Linked DNA regions of Homo sapiens: region 2 is linked to region 1. The links are contacts of gene promoters, found by promoter capture Hi-C in blood cells and fetal thymus (Javierre and others, 2016). All regions are on one chromosome and are shown on one strand. The core of a region is centred on a gene start or on the middle of the fragment in contact, and the rest is flanking DNA. Distances in the headings are between cores, read along the strand shown.

Region 1 (4,798 bases), core at 2,101-4,600:
TTCAAGTGATCCTCCTACCTTACCCTCCCAAGTAGCTGGTACTACAGGTATACTCCACTGTGCCTGGCTATTTTTACTCTTAAAAATACATGTGGGCTGGGCACGGTGGCTCACGCCTGTAATCCTAGCACTTTGGGAAGCCAAGGTGGGTGGATCCCTATAGCCCAGGAGTTCGAGACCAGCCTGGGCAACATGGCGAAATCTTGTCTCTGCAAAAAATACAAAAAATTTAGCTGGTGGCACATGCCTATAGTCCCAGCTACTTGAGAGGCTGAGGTGGAAAGATCACTTGAGCCCGGGAGGTCAAGGCTGCGGTGAGCCATGATCGTGCCACTGCACTCCAGTCTGGGCAACAGTGATCCCATCTGAAAAAAAAAAACAAAAAAAAAAATGCAATTTAGGGCCAGGTGGGGTGGCTCACGCCTATAATCCCAGCACTTTGGGAGGCCAAGGCAGGGGGATCGCCTGAGGTCAGCAGTTTGAGACCAGGCTGGCCAACATGGTGAAAACCCCTCTCTACTAAAAGTATAAAAATTAGCCAGGCATGGTAGTGTGTGCCTGTAATCCCAGCTATTCAGGAAGCTAAGGCAGGAGAATCGCTTGAACCCGGGAGGAGGTTGCAGTGAGCAGAAATCGAGCCACTGCACTCCAGCCTGGGGGGCAGAGGGAGACTCTGTCTCAGAAAAAAAAAAAAAAATGCAATTTAGTTCTCTAGGCTTTTCCATTTAATAGTTTTATATCCTCCTGTTTCTAAATCTGGATGACAGTGTAACACTCCAGTAAGGTGAATTGTGAATTGCTGAAATTCTTCAGATGTTTAAAAGAGTTTTCAGTATTCCTCATGTTAGAATTAATGCAGAGAAAAATTTTATCCTTTGAACTAGTTACATGTTGTGGACTTCTGGCCTGAGGCTCTTGGGGATTATGTGACATATTGGGAAGGGACACATTTCTGCTCTGTGGCTGTTACTAGAAATCTAGCCAGCAAATCAGACTACGTTTGTGAGAAGACAGGAAGGCACAGATTAGGGTTGAGCCAGCCTTCAACAGGTTTGGCTGGCAGTAGACACAGTGGAGCACATCTTAACTATTTTGGTAGGTCCTGGGTTTCTCTTGGTAGTTTTTGATAGAAAGGGGAATGGTGTGAGGAAAAAGTGGGCATACATTTCACCTTTCCACTGATAAGGCAGGTGGAATTGGGATAGTCAGTGGATGGGCCAATAGCTGGTGGCTGTGAGAAGAATAAGGATTTCCATACTGGTGTGTCATATTTACAGATAGGTTGTGACCTAAAAAGTTTTTTAAAAAACAGCAGTTAGGGCCTGGGCGCGGTGGCTCACGCCTGTAATCCCAGCACTTTGGGAGGCCGAGGCGGGCGGATCACAAGGTCAGGAGATCGAGACCATCCTGGCTAACAACGGTGAAACCCTGTCTCTACTAAAAATACAAAAAATTAGCCGGGCGTGGTGGCAGGTGCCTGTAGTCCCAGCTACTCGGGAGGCTGAGGCAAGAGAATGGCGTGAACTCGGGAGGTGGAGCTTGCAGTGAGCTGAGATCATGCCACTGCACTCCAGCCTGGGCGACAGAGTGAGACTCCTTCTAAAAAACAAAAACAAAACCAAAACAGTAGTTAGGGTACACACACACAAATTCTAGTGATTTTCCCCCCAATACTACCCTTGACTTTTGAAATTCTTGCTTTCTCAGAGTTTACAACATCCTTACCAAACAGCCTTCTCCCTCCTTACCACAAAAAAAGAAAAAAAAGTTCTGGGGTTGAGGGGACACTCCATTCTTAACATCCTCTATTATCCCAGCCCAATTCCCCAGCTCTCACTGGGACTAGTTGTACCTATCTTCATCATTTGGTCCCAGCATGACTACCTGTTGGTGCATGAGCTGATCTCTCCTAACCTAACAGCCAGATGCTAGTCTCTGGTACTCAGATGCTGGGCTGCATCAGATAGGATGCACAGGATCATCCTGGAAGCTTGTTGACATAGATTCCTGTGCAACACTCAGATATAGTCTTAATGTAGATTTGTGTTGGGTGGTATGGTAGGTAGAATAATGGCCTACCACTCTGAAACATATGAATATGTTACCTAACATGACAGAAGAGAATTAAGTTGCTAATCAGATGACTGTAAAATAAATTATCCTGGATCATCTGGATGGGCCTAATGTAATCACAAAGGTTGTTTCCTTGCCTTTTCCAGCTTGGCTCTGGCTCCCTTCCTCCAGCAAGGGTGGGTTGAGCTCTCACATGGCACCACTTTGACCTCTTCTGCTTCCCTCTTCTACACTGAAAGACTTATGGGCCAGGAGCAGTGGCTCGCACCTGCAATCCCAGCACTTTGGGAGGCCGAGGAAGGCAGATCGCTTGGCCCCAGGAGTTCAAAACCGTCCTGGGCAACGTGGCGAAACCCCATCTAGAAAGAAAAGAAGAGAAGGGGAGGGGGGAGGGGAGGAGGAGTTACATATATACACATACACACACACACACACGTACGTACATACATACATACACGCTAACTGGACGTGGTGGTGCGTGCCTGTAGTCTTAGCTTTCCAGGAGACTGAGGTGGGAGGACCACTTGAGCCTGAGATCGCGCCAGCCTGGGTGACAGTCAGACCATGTCTCAAAAAAAAAAAAAGATTTGTGATTAGGATTCTTAGTCCTCACCTGTATTATTTTCCTATTGCTACTGTAACAAATTACCACAAATTTACTGGCTTAAAACGACGCAAGTCTGTAGGTCAGAAGTCTGACACGGGTCTTAACTGGTGACCCGAGTCAGATTTGGGACACAAAGAACAGAAACCAAGCTGTGCAGGTTTCTGACAGGCAGTCCGGTTAGGGAGCCCTACAGCAACCCGCCGGTCCTCTCTCTCAGGCAGTTGCTGCCATGGCTCATTATTCCAACCGGTTCTCCTCAGCCCAGTCTATCTCAGTGGCTCCATTCATAGGGTGATGTGCCCGGCGGGACACTAACCCTAACCAAGCAGAGAGACGGTCATGCCCGTCACGACCTCGGCCCTCGCCCCGGCCGAGGCTTCTCCTGCAGGTCGCGAGAATCAGGTGCGTCAGCGGCGTCCGGGAACGCCGGAAGAGCCAGTGGAGCGGCTCTGTAGTCCAAAGTACCCCGTCGACCCCAGCACGGCCGCTCCACCGCCTCCTACTAGACCCAGTCCTAGGGACTGCGCAGTCGCAGAGCTCCGTCCGAGTACCGGAAGCCTAGGCCGCCAGCACTTCCGGGAAGTGACTTCGTCTCCGAAGCCGATTGGTTGTTGCTTTGCTCCCGCTCGCGTCGGTGGCGTTTTTCCTGCAGCGCGTGCGTGCTGCGCTACTGAGCAGCGCCATGGAGGACTCTGAAGCACTGGGCTTCGAACACATGGGCCTCGATCCCCGGCTCCTTCAGGTACACGCGAGGGCTGGGGAGCCGGCTTACGGGCTCTGCGGGGCGCGCCATCGCTCTTCACGCCGCTTAAACCGCACTCCTGGTCTCCTAGGCTGTCACCGATCTGGGCTGGTCGCGACCTACGCTGATCCAGGAGAAGGCCATCCCACTGGCCCTAGAAGGGAAGGACCTCCTGGCTCGGGCCCGCACGGGCTCCGGGAAGACGGCCGCTTATGCTATTCCGATGCTGCAGCTGTTGCTCCATAGGAAGGCGGTGGGTAACGAGAGAGCTGAGGGGAGGAAGGAGGCAAGCTCCAAAAGCCTGGGAAGGGCGGTTCCCGTTTGTCTGAGGTTTTCTCTTGGCCCTGTACCCGTGCAGGCCGGCCTGAGAACCTGGTGCTGTTGTGGCAAACACTCTGGGCTGGAGTTCAGGTTACCTGGATCCTTGTCCGGCCCTGCTACCACCAACCTTTGCGTAATCTTCGACAAAGCACTTTCTTTTCTTTCTTACATAAAAAGGGAGCACATCTATCTTTTCTACTTACAGAATTATTGTGAGAATTTAGCTTCATAACTAGTATATTTAAAGTAGCTTCATAAACATCAGAGTACGTTATTCTTTTTGAGGGTCAGTGCCTGGGGAAAGAACTCTCCACTCTGCATTCTGAGGCGGGCAGAGTGATAGATGATCAAAGTACTGCTAAGTAGTGTTGCAGCAGATGGGTCAGGTAGGCTGGAAGGGGTAGAGACACGTGGACACAGTGATGTGCACTGCTGGCTAAAGTCTTTAATTCATATTCTTACAGACAGGTCCGGTGGTAGAACAGGCAGTGAGAGGCCTTGTTCTTGTTCCTACCAAGGAGCTGGCACGGCAAGCACAGTCCATGATTCAGCAGCTGGCTACCTACTGTGCTCGGGATGTCCGAGTGGCCAATGTCTCAGCTGCTGAAGACTCAGTCTCTCAGAGGTGGGTAAAAGCAGCAAAGCTGTACCTGAATGAAGCTACACAGTGTTGTGGGGTTGGGTTTGTGTGTGGCAAAAAAGAGAGCAAATCCAGGGTGAGATCCCAGCTGCTACATTCTGCCTGATACTGATGTCTTGTCCACCTCCAGAGCTGTGCTGATGGAGAAGCCAGATGTGGTAGTAGGGACCCCATCTCGCATATTAAGCCACTTGCAGCAAGACAGCCTGAAACTTCGTGACTCCCTGGAGCTTTTGGTGGTGGACGAAGCTGACCTTCTTTTTTCCTTTGGCTTTGAAGAAGAGCTCAAGAGTCTCCTCTGGTAAGGCAGAGGTGGGTGTGATTCCTAGTGGAAACATCTGTGAGTAGGAGTTGGGACGAGAGCGGGGTGGCTGGAAGCCAGTTACTACAATTAGCGGCCCTTGGAGCTGGAATC
Region 2 (5,035 bases), core at 294-2,793, 280 kb after region 1:
CTCATGGAGCCCACCTGGGGCCAGCCAGGCAAGAAAGGACGTAGGTGGCCTGAGGCTGGTTTCAGAACAACCCTTTATTAATTTACAGCAGGAAATAAAGCTGTCGGCCTGAGAGTGCTTCTGTGGCCGGCCCAGACTCTTCCAGAAGGACCTGCTCTGGAGGACCTGAGCGGGGAGGGGGCTGTGCTTGCTACTAGGGAGACAGCGCCTGGCCCGCGTGGGGAGCGTCAGACGCAAAAACTGGATGGGAAATTTCGATTTACAAAACAGGTCAGCCAGGCTTGGATCTTTTGCTTTTACTCAGGGCTCCTCAGCTTCTTTCTAAAATTCTAAAATTTAAGAACTTCCTGGAATTGCGTGTGGCCTTGCTGTGGATTGAAGGGGTCCCATGGCCCTTGGCTGTCACTGTTGTTGGGAATCTGAGGGGGCGTTTCCAGCCTATTCTGCAACATCTGAGTGAGGAGAGTGCACATGTGTGTGTGCGCATGCCTGTGAACTGCAACCGACCGGTGAGGCTCAGGACTGATGCAGGCAGCCCTGGCTGGGGTGGCACAGGCCCCAGCACTTGGGGAGGAAACTGGATGGTGTGGACATGGGCTGCGGGAGGCAGAGAGAGGAACAGGGAGAGAAGCTGCTGCCTCTGAAATTTCCACTAAGGGAACGGAATCCAAGCGTTGAGTGGGCCGACTCAGAGGCCGCTTTGATCCTGCGTGGCCCAGCGCTGCCCTGCGGGAGCTCAGCAGCCTGTCATGGGGATCACATGCACGATCACTCCAGGCGCCTGGGTCCCTGCCTATGCTGTCCTGGGAGCAGAATCACACTGCCGGCTCTTTCTGGATGCCGGATACTGTGTTGTGGCTGGTACCTGTGTCACCTCATTCTGTGTAGGGGGACAATCACTGCCCCCTTACTGATGGAAGTCACCAGCCCTTGTGAGGTGGCTGGGGAGGGCACCTGAGCAAGGTCTGCGTGACCACACGGGATAGGCTGTGGGGACGCAGGGTCCGACCTTCCCTCCCTGGTGTCGTTACCAAGTGTCTTAACTGGCACCCCAAGAGCCGGTAATCTTGGTAACCCCCAGTCTTCACCAGTGAAGGTGAGGCATGAGAGGGCCCTAGAGGGGCTGTTGTGTGGTCCTGCTGGGGGCAAGGCGAAATTTCCTTCCTGCTCTCTGGGCCCTCCCACAAACTCCAGCCATGCTGCTCAGGGACACACCTCCTCCCAGCTCTCCGGGGAGAGGTGCGGGCAGCTGGCGAGGGCCGCAGTGCGACCAGCATGACTTAGTGGAGAGTGGGGCAGGCCACAGAGCCACCTGCGGTGGGGAGCTCCGTGGGGGTTGGTGGGAGCCACGGATAGTCAGCAACTGGTGGCCGGTTGCAAGTGGGGACTGGAGGGAAGAGGCAGGCACGAGGGTTGGGGGGGCAGCTCAGAGCTGGGAAAGCCTGGGCCTGCACCAGCAGTCTGTTGTGGAGCCAGAGGAGCCATAGACTGGATGCGAGGAGGAGACAGAGGCGGATGGGGCATCCTGCAGACAATGACGCTTCCTGCTGCCTCTGCCTGTGAAGCCCCGAGAGCCCACAGGATGCCTGTGAAACACCGACTGCCCTGGGTGGCTGCAGTCAGGGGAGGTACACTCAGCACCTCTCCTCGCAGGTGGCCTTCACCCCATTATCGCGCGAGAAGCCTGAGCCCCCCTGCAATGAAGGAGGTGCCCGAGCAGGTGCAGTCGTAGAAACAGGCCATGTAGTTCCGGGCCTCCATTCCCACCCAGAACTAATTCTTCCCCTTCTCTCTCAGGACAGGTTTCCCTGGTACTGTTGATCCCACTGTAAATGAGACAGGGTTCAGAGCCTTCCACAAAGCAAGGACTCAAAGAGTATTTTCTTGTTTTAATTAGCTTTATTTGATTTTAAAAGCCCCATAATATGCTTGGTGCCCGGGGGCCTCATGATCTGAACAGGTTATTCAAAATCGCTTTCAGCCTGGCTCAGTAGCATTCGTCCCATGCAGGCCATCATGCGGGCAACCTTGATGTCTAGATGCAATTCGCAGCCCACAGGAACAGCGACCTGGGATCCCGTAGGAGCACCTCTTCCGGCTTTTTCCTGCCTTTGCCCCAACCCGCTGTGCCCTTACAGCTGCCTGGGATGGTCCACACCCTAGAGGCAGGCGTGTGATCAGCCTATGCACCTGCAGTGTCATCCAAGGCATTCTTTGCTGAGCCCAAGGACCATGCTGCCGCCTGCTAGGCCCGCCCGTGCTTCCAGATAAGAAGACCGGGCTTCGAGCCTCTGTGCGCTGGTGGAGAGGCGGGGAGCCTAAGCCCCAGGCCTTATTTACTTGGGGTACCCCCTGGCTCTGACCAGGGCCTTGTGGCCTCAGTGTAGCACAGACCCATCTACCCACAGGCCCTGGAAGCCTTGGTGGGTCTCCCCTCCTGCTGGGACACTCTAGGGGCCGCTCTTCCTGTACTGCTGGGCTGGACAAGCCCTGAGGCCCAGCAACTCCATGCTCCACAGCCCACTGTGTTGCTTGTAGGTCAGTTCTGGCTCCTATATCACAGCCCAGGCACTGTGCCTGATACCTAGGTCCAGAGTATAGGGCACTCTGCCCATAGAGAGCCATTGGAAGGGGGAGTGGCAAAAGTGAACAGGTAGATAATTAAGTAAACTAACCTAAGGAACGTGGGAGGTGCAATATCTAAAGACCAAGCTGACTTTCTGTGTGAGCTGGGAAAGCGGGGAGCTGTTTGCATTGGATCTTGAAGGACGCATAGGAGTTTGCCCTTGGCAGCAGGGACAGGCTTATGATACAGATCCAGGCTCTTTGTCGGTGTTGTCTCTCAATGTTTATAAACACTGGCGGGCAAGCACTGAGTCGCAAGGGAGTATGGTGATGGTGCTGGCTTCTTTGCTCTTGGAGAAGTCAGAGATGTTGGGCCCCCAGCCATGGCCTGCATGGCTCATGCTAAACATGTTTGTGGCCACTTCTCAAGAGGGCTGACACTTCCAAGGGGGCTTCCCGTGACAGATTGCCGTCTGGCAAGTGGCAGAACCACCAGGAAGGGGAGGAGACAGAGGTGGATCTGCAGCTGCCAGCCCAAGTTCCCCGGGGAGATGGCAGGATGGGTGCGGGTGGACAGCCATTATGGGGAGGAGCACCTTTCAGGGTGCTCTTTAGGGGAAGTGGTGGGTAAAGCGGGCAAATAACTGGGGTGGGAGACTTAAGCATACATTCCTTAAGTCCCCCAGAGGAGAGAGGAGAGGGAGAAAATTGGGGGGCGGCGATGACATTGGGACTCAGAGAAGGTTTGGGGCTTCAGTGAGGGACAGAAGGCGTGGGAGAGGCAGAGCCCAGGAGCGGGGCGCAGGGAGCAGTGGTGTCCTTGGGAGCCAGCCCTCCTGCGCCTTCCCCCAGCTGGCCACCTTCTCCCTCTGGGGGCATCCAAGTCGCTGGGAAAGGGGACCCTGTCTTCTATTCTTGAGGGTGCCCTCCACCCTACCTGCAGGCCTGTGTCCAAGAGCAGGGCCTTCTTCACCCCCGGGCCCTGCACCCCTGGTCCCTGCACCCCTGGTCCCTTCCTGCTGAGTGTCTGCTGGGTGCCTGGCACTGTGCCTGCCACATCCTATGTCACTACAGCTGTGCGGCCTGGTGCTCCCACTCCACACTCATCCCGAGGCCCCCAGCCATGCCTTCCTCCTTCCTCAGCGGCGCTGCCTGGCCTTGGCCCCCTGGCTCTGGCAGTCTTACCTGTGTTCCCTGCCCCCGCCTTCCCCGATTGCTGACTGCTCCGACCTAGGCTGATGGTGCAGGGGCGGCTCTGGAGCCTTCTGCAGAGGAGAAAGGGGCTGCCTGACCCAGGGAGGGGAGAGGGATCAACTGGAGGAAGCCCTTGTCCCACCCACCTGCGGTCAGGCTCTTGGTGATATGGTGCATGGATGTCGTGTGCTGAGGAACAGCTGTGGCTTGCCGCCCTCTGCTCCGGTACCTGTCTGAGTCTGGCCAGCAGCTGGGAGCCTGCTGTGCTGGTGGGAAGCTGCGCTTGGGTCTCCTCCCTGCTCCGGGGACGGGCTCGACACAGCGGTGCCATACGGGCATCATCAGCTTGGCATAGATGTGCAGTCTGTTGAACTTCCTACTGAGGGTCAACCCTGCAGTGTGTGGTTGCGTTCTGGCGCACGGAGGCCCAGACTCCCTGCTCCCTTCAGGGCCTGGTCCAGAACACTCAGTGGAGGCCTGCCACGTCAGCCCTGTGGCCGCTGAGCCCTCTAGGGGTCAGAGCGTGACAGATGGTAGCTCAGGACTGGTTTCGGGAAGCTCTTACCTCTCCTGAGCAAGAAGTCCGGCAAACAGCCACACAGTGGCCCCGGAAGGCTCTTCTGCTCAGTCATATGGATGGGGAAACTGAGGCTCAGAGAGCTGTGTCACCCCGTCTAACCAGGATTGAAGCCAGACCAGGCAAAAAGCCCATGGTCTTTGCCCTCACCTCAGTCTCCCAAGTTAATGTCATATGTTAAAAATAATAATCCTTTCTTTATATTTTTCTTTAAAAACATTATGAGAACGTAACTGATGCACATGGTGAAAAAATCAAGCAGAGCAAGAGAATGCGGAGTGAACAGTGAACACCTCACCGTGCCCCCCCGCCGCGCCCCCCCGCCGCGCCCCCCACGCCGTGTCCCCCCCACACCGCGCCCCCTCCGCCGCGCCTCCCCCCCGCCGCATCTCCCACCGCTGGGTCTCCCCCCACATCTCCTGAGGCAGCCCCTGTCCCTGTTCACTGGTTGACTTTAAAAAGCGAAGACGCAGCTCAGTGGCCGCCCAAGCACAGTGACTGCTCTTGAGACCTGAGTCGTTAAGAAAATGTTCAATTAGATTTAGTGTAATTATTTATCTTTCCAAGGAATTGAACAGTACTCTTTTACAAAGATTTATCTCCACAAAGGACTGTAGATAAAACGGTGTTCGTATGTAAGACGCTCCTCTTCCACCACGCAGAGCCCTTGGCCTGGACTCCCATGTGGGTTTCTCAGGC

The links. The method cuts DNA at HindIII sites, captures the fragments that hold promoters and counts their contacts. A CHiCAGO score of 5 or more calls a contact.
Region 2: a fragment that was not itself captured here is called in contact with the fragment with the promoter of DDX56 in region 1 in 1 of 17 cell types (endothelial precursors); the score reaches 5.8 in endothelial precursors.

The regions. Positions count from the first base shown.
Region 1 is chr7:44,572,460-44,577,257 of GRCh38, reverse strand. DDX56 (DEAD-box helicase 56) reads left to right here and starts at 3,350. Exons shown (of 14, transcript NM_019082.4): 1 at 3,350-3,422; 2 at 3,514-3,675; 3 at 4,208-4,368; 4 at 4,514-4,684. The coding sequence starts at 3,363. RefSeq lists an enhancer at 3,584-3,733. The HindIII fragment of the contact is 6,359 bases long and covers 1,993-4,798 here.
Region 2 is chr7:44,285,495-44,290,529 of GRCh38, reverse strand. The region is part of intron 1 of CAMK2B (calcium/calmodulin dependent protein kinase II beta); the gene reads left to right. Among named protein-coding and RNA genes, the nearest start is that of CAMK2B, 38 kb to the left of the region's middle. RefSeq lists enhancers at 83-584, 1,281-1,923. The HindIII fragment of the contact is 7,022 bases long and covers 1-5,035 here.